Regions from separate parts of the Homo sapiens genome. Here region 1 is linked to region 2. The links are contacts of gene promoters, found by promoter capture Hi-C in blood cells and fetal thymus (Javierre and others, 2016). All regions are on one chromosome and are shown on one strand. Each heading gives the region's core, a stretch centred on a gene start or on the middle of the fragment in contact. The rest is flanking DNA. Distances are from core to core; before and after follow the strand shown. Region 1 overlaps ADGRD1 (adhesion G protein-coupled receptor D1). Region 2 holds the start of STX2 (syntaxin 2).

Region 1 (4,286 bases), core at 331-2,830, 160 kb after region 2:
GAACATTTTGATCTTCAAAACGTATGTGCCTCGGGAACCATTTTGTCTTCCTAGAAGTGGCATAATATGGCCCAGTCACATCCACAAAAAGAATGATGTATCTCCCAGTCCTGACATCTGGGATATAAGAGCTCATTTTGAGTAGACATGCAACTGATTCAGAATGCCTTGTCCTCTAAGGCAAAAGAAATGCACGTGTGTCAGTAATGTGTTACTGTCCTAAACATGGAAGAAGGAAATGATGGTTTTTTCCCCATGAGAAATGTGTACTTGGTTCATCCTGGTCATTTCATGTAATATGTATTTTTTTTTTCTTTACCATCCCATCATTCTTGAATGACAATAGAAAGCTTTTTATGTTAAAAGTCACTGGATTTAGTAAGAAAAAGGAGAATACATGACAATATGTACTTCATGATTAAGGTGCAGAAAAAAAGCTTCTCTTGTTCTCTTTACTCAAAATAGCTAGAAAGGAGAATGAAATAATTTTTCCTATATTTCTGAAAATAACTTGATTGTACTTATTTAAAAAGAAAACAAATAAATAGTTGTGGAGAAGTTAGAAAATGCAGATAATAAAAAACAAAATAAAAATCACTTCAAATCCTAAAACTGAGATTATTAACATTCTTGTATATTTCCTTATAGTCTAGTTTTCAATTCACTTATATATGTATTCAACAGATATACTGTATATTTGACTTAATTTGTTTTTCCTTAATTATGTCAATAACACTTTCCAATGATACTAAGTATTCACCTGCAACACTGTATTAGTCAGGACAGGCCAGGGTGCACTGCAGTAACAAATAGATCCCTACATCTCAGTGGCTCAGCACAGTAGAAATTTACTTCTCTGCCATGCAAAGTCCAGAGTGAGTCAGAGGAGCCTCTTCTCCACCCAGATACTCAGGGATCCTGGCTCCATCTGTCTTCCGGTGCTGGCTTCTCAATATGTGGTTTCCAAGGTTGCCAGGCAGGGGCAGAGAAGGGTGAGGAGGACTCTTAACTGCCTTGGCCCAGAAGGGTCCCAACCACACCACCATGATATTAAAGTGCTCATTCTCCTAAGCCCTGATAATATTTGAAAATGTTTGCCAGTTTGAGGGCAGAAGTGGCATTTTATTCTCTCATTATTAATAAGATTGCGTTAGAGTTTACATTTGATAAACTTTTGTTTGAATAATTTCAAGTGGAATGAGATTAGGTTTAACAGTGGCAAAGGGAGAAAAAAAGGCTCAAGAATGTAAGATGGATACAGTCTTACCTAGAAAACAATTCCTTTTTAAAAGGTTTGACCTCTTTCATGATTTCAAGGGGACTTTGTGTCCAAAGCTGCAGGCTGGGAACACCCAGAGGACAGCCAATGGAAGTATCCAGGCAGACGTATTTTGTGCATGATTTTAATTAACTGCTTTTGAATGCAAAATATGCAAATCTGTTACAAAATATGAATAACCAGGAAACTGTCCAGACTCAGGCAGGGTCCAATATGCATTAAAGAGAATGCATGAATCGGTCTCTACCCCACAGAACTGCATGCCAGAAACACAGACTTCCATGTGCTTAACTGGGCCTGGTGACTGAAATCAGGCTATGGGCCTAAAAGCAAATATCTAAAATTGGCCTCAGCATTCTATTTCCAGCTCATGAGGCTCTTCTGAAGTGCGTGTTTGTGGGAGAATGCTGAGGACTTAGCAGCAGGCAGGTGCTTCCCCAGAAAGGCAGGAAGAGAAGCAGTGAAGGCAGAGCTCACTGGCCCAGCTCAGCAGGGCTTAAGAGAGGCCTCTCCCCTGGTGATGTGTGTCTGAGGATGAGGGCCCCCTGCTTTCTTGGGGGCAGTGTCTACCAGGATCCTCTGCTCTGGAACTCAGAAAGGAAAGAGGGCTCTTGGAGTAGAAGGCAAGCTCCTGGGAAGTCAAGGCAGCCAGAGATAGCTCTGGGTGCCGGCACCTCGGAAGCAGCCACCCTTCATGGAGAAGGGGACAGAGCTGCTGGTGTCCCCATCCCAGAGTGGACCTGGGGGCGATCAGCCCCTCCTCGTGAAGCACAGGGAGGTAGGGGGAGGGTCTGGGATGTGCTGAGGGTCCCTCTGTGAGTTCAGGGAGGAGGCAGGACCAGGAGTTGGGTCCCCTCAGTCCCCGTGTCTAAGTGTAGAAATGCAGGAGCCGGCGATGGCTGGGGTGATGGGTCCACCTGGGCTGTGTCCATGCTCCGTGAGCTCAGTCGGGTGTGTGGCCTCCGTGTGGTCCCCTCCTGATCCATGGGAAGGGGCAGTTGTGTGACTTCTTCCTCCCTCGTGGCCAACGTGGGGAAACTTGATTTTGTGTGCCTGGTGCACCTGCCTGGTGCCCTGGCTGAGTGGGGTGGATTTTCATGGCTCCTGGTGCTTGTGTTGCTGCAGGACAGCGCCGTGGTACTGAGTCTCATCGACACTATTGACACCGTCATGGGCCATGTATCCTCCAACCTGCACGGCAGCACGCCCCAGGTCACCGTGGAGGGCTCCTCTGCCATGGCAGGTAGCTGTCGCTTGTAAGGGTGAGCCACATGGCAGGGGCGGGGGCTGGAGGCTGCGTTTCACTGCCTGTCTTTTTACACCCTTAGCAGAGAGCCATGCTCTGTCTCCCTGACTGCTCTGCCTGGCACAAACCACATTTGGAAGGAAAACCCGTGGTCAGATGAGGGCAGGTGTGTTCGGCCATGATATGCAGATGGGGCCCATAAGCTTTTCCCAGTGACTTGGGAGCCAAGCTCCTGCCCTGGGATGATGGTCTCGGTTCAGAGCAGGAGGCAGAAGCAGCAGTGCCTGCAAGAGTCTGTGGAATAAAAGGGGTGGCCTCGGGTTTCTGGCGTCAGCTTGCTCTCAGCTGGGCTCCAGGGTAATTGTCACAGTTGTCTAATTGTAGAGGCAGAGGTGATGACCTTTCGATTTTAAAAGTCTTTACCAGGAGTGCATTATCCTGCTGATACTTCGCTGCAAGAGCCGAGCTGGGGAAAATGGGCTGAAGCTACAGGGGTTAGTTTAGTCGCAGTTTGTTGGCCGTGTTGCCCTCGCCTGCTGCGCTTGGGGAGGAGCCGATGTCACCGCATCGCTGAGCACAGCCCATCCTTGCACCGGCCTTGAGAGCTGGGGGCTGTGCTGGGGCGGAGGGCGCCCCAGGTGAGGAGCCGCGCGCCCGTGGGCCGGAATGCTGAGCCTCCCCGTGGCAGTCACTGCCTGGGCTCTTCATTGCTTTACCCTTTTTTTTTTTTTTTTTGAGGCCATGCTTTCTAAAGGTAATTATACTTCCCGTGGGGAGCTTGTCCTGTCAAAAAAGAAAAGCAGACGGGGTTTTGCAGTCTGATTTCCTGCAGCCTGTGAGCTCTGACGGGACTTCCGCTCTCTCGCTCCTTCCACCGCAGAGTTTTCCGTGGCCAAAATCCTGCCCAAGACCGTGAATTCCTCCCATTACCGCTTCCCGGCCCACGGGCAGAGCTTCATCCAGATCCCCCACGAGGCCTTCCACAGGCACGGTGAGTGTGGCTGCGCTGGACTCCCTTCCGGGGCGGCTCCCTCAAGTCTTTCTGAAGAGTCCCCAAGCTTTGCTGGGTGCCCACCGCGCCAGGGAGCTGCGGTGCTCCCCCGGGCCGCCTGCGGTGCTCCCCCGGACTGCCTGTCCTGTCCTGCAGGAGAGGGACTGTGGGCAGCCGTTCTCAAAGCGTGTCCTCAGGCCACCCTCATGGACACGCTTGAGAGGTTCCTTAGTGATGCTAATGCTGTGCCCACTCCAGGCCACTGAACTGGAATTTGGGGTGGGGTCTGGGAGCATCTCAACCTGCTCGCCTGGGGAATCCGGCCCACTGGGAAGTCATCCTACCTACATCCTCCTAAATCGGCACACACCTGGTCAGCCGAAGATAAAAAGATGGGGCCACCTCCCCTTCCTGCTCAGGTAGCTGTGGGCCAGGTGAGGGGTTCATCTGTTCAGGAACCTGGGGTTCCACTCCTGTGCAGGCCTCAGTCGAGTCACATAATAAAAAATGAGAGGCTCAGGGGACCCCCTGCCTCTGACCAGGGAGCCCTGTTGGGAGCCCAGATGGCCCTGGCTATTTTTTGCTACAATGACCGTCACCCTCTCTGGTTCCTGGAAAAGCGAATATGACTCTGCAGACATCTCCTTCCTCTCCTTCCCTCCCTGGGGACCTCGGGCAAGCAGGGGAGAGCCTCAGATTTTTGCCCCTGCCACCCTGGCCAGAGGCCACGCCCCCTTCCCAGGGTTCTGCCTTAGGGATGGGGACCAGGA
Region 2 (4,484 bases), core at 1,784-4,283:
TAAACTTCAAATTCAGTTTTAACTTACTATTTTATACTAGGGAGAAGGTTGTTCTTTTCTCTTTTTTTGAGACAGGGTCTCAATCTGTCTGTTGCCCAGGCTGGAGGGCAGTGGCAAAATCTTGGCTCACTGCAACCTCCGCCTCCTGGACTCAAGCAATCTTCCCACCTCAGCCTCCTGAGTAGCTGGAACCACAGGCATGCACCACTACACCTGGCTGAGTTTTTGTATGTTTTTTGTAAAGACAGGGTTTTGCCATGTTGCCCAGGCTGGTCTTGAACTCCTGAGCTCAAATGATCTGCCCACCTCAGCCTCCCAAAGTGCTGGGACTACAAGTGAAAGCCACTGTGCCCAGCCAGAAGGCTGCTTTTTATAACTCCCTAAAAACAAAAAATCTGGTAAACATTAATCACACTTATAATTACATAGCACTTGCTCCCTCCCACCTTCTCCCAGAGCTTCACACATTAGATAATTTTATGCTTCATAACTCCCTCTATGAGGTGGACAAGAGAGATACCACTGTCCCCATTTCACGTACAAGAAAAAGTTTTGAGAGATTTAAAAATTATTTGCCCAAGATGAGAAACTCCATGAGTGGAAACTTCCACGGATATACTCTCTGACTGCTCAGCTGCTGTGTCTAAAGCAGGATGGTATTGAAGTAGATGAGCTGACTTCTAGCTCTGCCGTTCTAGAACAAAACTGATTGACATGTTCTACTGTTTCAGGAAGGGTTTGGATATATAGAAACTGAGTGACAAATAATTGCCTTATTTGCTTTTTGCTATTCAAGCCAAGAAAACGTACTTTCTCACGATTCCCCAACATATAAATTTGGCTGTATTTTGCCAAAATAGTCACAGCTCTCACGTTCAATGACATTGAGCTTTTTTTTTTTTTTTTTATGAGACAATGTCTCACTCTGTCACCCAGGCGGGAGTGCAGTGGCATGGCACAATCATGGCTCACTGCAGCCTCTATCTCCTGGGCTCAAGGAATCCTCCTAGCTTAGCCTCCTGAGTACCAAGGACTACAGGTGCGAGTCACACCTGGATAGTTTTTTTGTGCGTGCTTTGTTTTGTTGGTTTTTCTGAAACAGAGTCTCTTTCTGTTGCCCAGACTGGAGTACAGTGGCACAATCTCGGCTTTCTGCAACCTCCGCCTCCTGGATTCAAGCGATGCTCCTGCCGCAGCCTCCAGAGTAGCTGGGACTACAGGTGTGCGCCATGACATCCGGCTATTTTAGTAGAAACGGGGTTTTGCCATGTTGGCCAGGCTAGTCTCCAACTCCTGACCTCAAGTGGTCCACCCAACTCGGCCTCCCAAAGTGCTGGGATTACAGGCATGAGCCACTGCGACTGGCCTCCTGCTAATTTTTTAATTTTTTTCGAGAAACAGTGTCTCCCTGTGTTGCCCAAGCTGGTCTCCAATACCTGGGCTCAAGTGATGCCCCCACCCTGATCTCCCAGACTGCTGGGATTACAGGAGTGAGCCACAGCTTTTCTTCATTAAATAAATACCTGAGCTCCTACTACACGGCACTGAAAGATAATCCATCGGGCAAGACAACACAACTATAATTTGCTGTGTTTAAGATGATATTGATCTGCGGAACACAGGGAATATTTGTCCATTAATAAAAAAGGAAAAATCACCGTGAAGAAACTTCCTTGGAATGAATATAAAGCATAATTTCCATGATCCTAAGGATGAAATCATTGCCTTTCTCAACCAGAGCTCCTCATCTGAACCACAGAACACAGATAATGATTTAAGTGGCTCTTTTCTCTATTCTCCCACTCGGGGGTACATAACAGCTCCATTCTAGCAGCAGAGGAGAGAGAATAATTCATTACATGCAGTGGGTGTCGTAGGGCTGTGGGCCTTAGCACCCCTGTTCTGAGGCTGCCAACAATTTAGAGACCAGAGGCTCTATCTGTGCACACACGTAGCATGAATTAGTACCTGTATTGTAAAGGGAAAAAGTCATAACTACTTCTGCTGGCCTAAGCCGTCCTGGGTTAGACAAGCTTGGAAAGTGCACGACCATCACTATCATTCCGCTGTCACTGCACCATGCACAGTCCTGTCACCTTTACACGTGTAGAATGCATCGAAATCCTTCCAAAATTTTTAGTGACCTGCTTTTCCCTTGCTAAAGTAAACAGTAACTTGCTGTGTGCCCGGCTGCTGGGCGCGTAAGGTGCGTTCAGAGTCAACACACGGTCCCAGTTTCCAAAGCAAACTACTGGGAGATCAGACACAAGCTGCTGTTCGCGCTCGCCCCACCCCAAGCACCCAGCACTCTAAGGTGCCCACATTTCACACCCATCTGTTGCCTCCCGCTTGGTGCACAGTCCTTTGTGAAGCCCCAGGGATAAAGCAGCGACCAAGAGGACCCGGCCTGCTCCCCGGGGCTGACGCCAGCTGCGGGGACCCCGTGGGGCGGACCACAGTTAGGCCAGTGGGCTCCGGCTGGGTAAGCGCCAGATACAATCCGCCAAGCGGAGTGACGGACAGGGAGCCACGCTCGAAGAGGGGGTCGAGGCCGGGACCTTCCCCGCTCCCTCCTCCTGCCCCAACCCGCCCTGAGGACTCCGCCCAGGAAGCCCTGGGGACCCCGCCCGGAGCCCCCACCCTAGGACTCCCGGGACCCCCGCCCTGGGGACCCCACCAGCAGTCCCCGCTCAGGACTCCCTGAGACCCTGCCCGCAGCCCCCGCCCCAGAACGCCGGAGATCCCCGCCCTGGGGACCCTCCCGGAGCCCCGCCCAAGACGCCCCGAGCCCCCGCCCGCCCTCCAGACGCCGCCCCGGCCGGGCCTGAACCGCTACCCGCGGCTGCCGCTCACCGCCGTCAGGTCTGGCAGCCGGTCCCGCATCCCCGCCGGCCGGGCAGCGCGCCCCGCCGCTCAAGCCTGTCCCGAGCTGCCTCCGGCCGGGCCTCGGGCTCTCCGGTCTCCGCCTCAGGCCCCGCGGTCCCGGCCCGGCGCCAGCAGCCCTCCCTGGAGCCGGCGCTGCCACGGCAACCGCGCCCCGCGCGCTCTGCGCATGCCCGGCCCGCGCCGCGCCCCGCACCCACCCACACGGCGGCAGCGCTTTCCAGCGGGAGCCCGGAGGGGCGGGGCCTGGGGGCGGGGCCTAGGCGGGGAGGGGCGGGGTCCGGCCGAGCCCCAGGCTGGCAGTTCCGCTACACGTGCTGTTTGTCCCTTGATCTGCTTTTATGCTTTCACACTCATTGTTTTATTTATCAAAATATAGAGCATTCAACGAATAGTGACAAAAGAGCAAAGCTCCCGGAATGTGCTGGGTGCAGCTTTGGGTAATACATATGCCGAACCTTCTCTTTAAGGGTCCACGCGCAGCCTCGGGTGTGAATGAAGGAGAAGAGATCGTGTACCACACATGATGCTTACGGAGCATAACACGGCAGGGGGCGGTAACGGGAAGAGCGTCCGCAGGCCCAGCCCTGGGATACCATTCTGGCAGGAGAAACAGGCAATACAGACACAGACAAATAAATGATAGATGAGAAAAGAAAGTAAGGGCATGGGCACGGAACTGGCAGAGAGGTCGTCATGAAGGTGCAGGAGCTTAGGTGAACTACCCAGGTTGGGGGAACAGTCCCCAAGACCATTATCACCTCTGACACCAACGGCAAATTCTGGCGGTTTCCAAAACCACCTTCAAGTTCCATAATTTGCTAGAAGGAATCACAGAATACACTAAAAACTACTGTACTCACAACTATGGTTTCTTAGCAGGAAAATGATACGGATTAACATCAGCCAAGGAAGAAGGGCAGAGGGGGAGTCTGGGGATTACGGCGTGCAGCTTCAAGGTCCTCCCGTGGTCCTCTCCCTGTGTAGTCAGGCCTCATTACTTGCCCTGCACTGATGTGTGGCCTTACACACGAAGTACTGCCAGCCAGGGAAGCTCACTTGAGCCACAGTGTGCAGAACGTTTACTGGGCTCCATTGCATGTGCATGATTGATTGATTGTTTGATTGCTTTCATGCTTGATCTCAGCCTCTTGGTTAAGTGATATCCATGTAACCCTAAGCCCCCACCATAAATCACACTGTTACTCTCTGGCTAGCCGAAGACTCCCAGGCAAACAAAGATTGCCTTCCAGGAGGAGAAGGCAAGGCCAGATTTGTTTTTAAACAAGGTTAAAGTCTTTACTGCCTCCTGGAGGAGGTGGCTTTGGTCTGACCAGAAGGCAGCGCTAAGAAATCTGCTTGAGAGCAACAGGCTACACATTAAAAAACAGGACGTTTTGGACTTGGTTCTAGGTGTGATGTGGTTCTGTTACCCGATGGAAGGTCTTGACAGCCAGTTGTCCAGGTGAGTGTGGTGGCGGGCACCTGTAATCCCAGCTACTCAGGAGGCTGATGCATGAGAATTGCTTGAACCCGGGAGGTGGAGCTTGCAGTGAGCCAAGATCGCACCACTGCACTCCAGCCTGGACAGTAAAGCGAGA

The links. The method cuts DNA at HindIII sites, captures the fragments that hold promoters and counts their contacts. A CHiCAGO score of 5 or more calls a contact.
Region 1: a contact is called between a fragment that was not itself captured here and the fragment with the promoter of STX2 in region 2, in 1 of 17 cell types (naive CD4 T cells). The highest score is 5.1, in naive CD4 T cells.

The regions. Positions count from the first base shown.
Region 1 is chr12:131,000,781-131,005,066 of GRCh38, forward strand. It overlaps ADGRD1 (adhesion G protein-coupled receptor D1), which reads left to right. Exons shown (of 25, transcript NM_198827.5): 10 at 2,405-2,522; 11 at 3,406-3,516. Among named protein-coding and RNA genes, the nearest start is that of ADGRD1-AS1, 8.9 kb to the left of the region's middle. RefSeq lists an enhancer at 1,616-1,825. The HindIII fragment of the contact is 2,291 bases long and covers 436-2,726 here.
Region 2 is chr12:130,836,217-130,840,700 of GRCh38, forward strand. It overlaps STX2 (syntaxin 2), which reads right to left and starts at 3,034. Exons shown (of 11, transcript NM_194356.4): 1 at 2,854-3,034. The coding sequence starts at 2,883. RefSeq lists silencers at 2,598-2,657, 2,728-3,237. The HindIII fragment of the contact is 18,553 bases long and covers 2,032-4,484 here.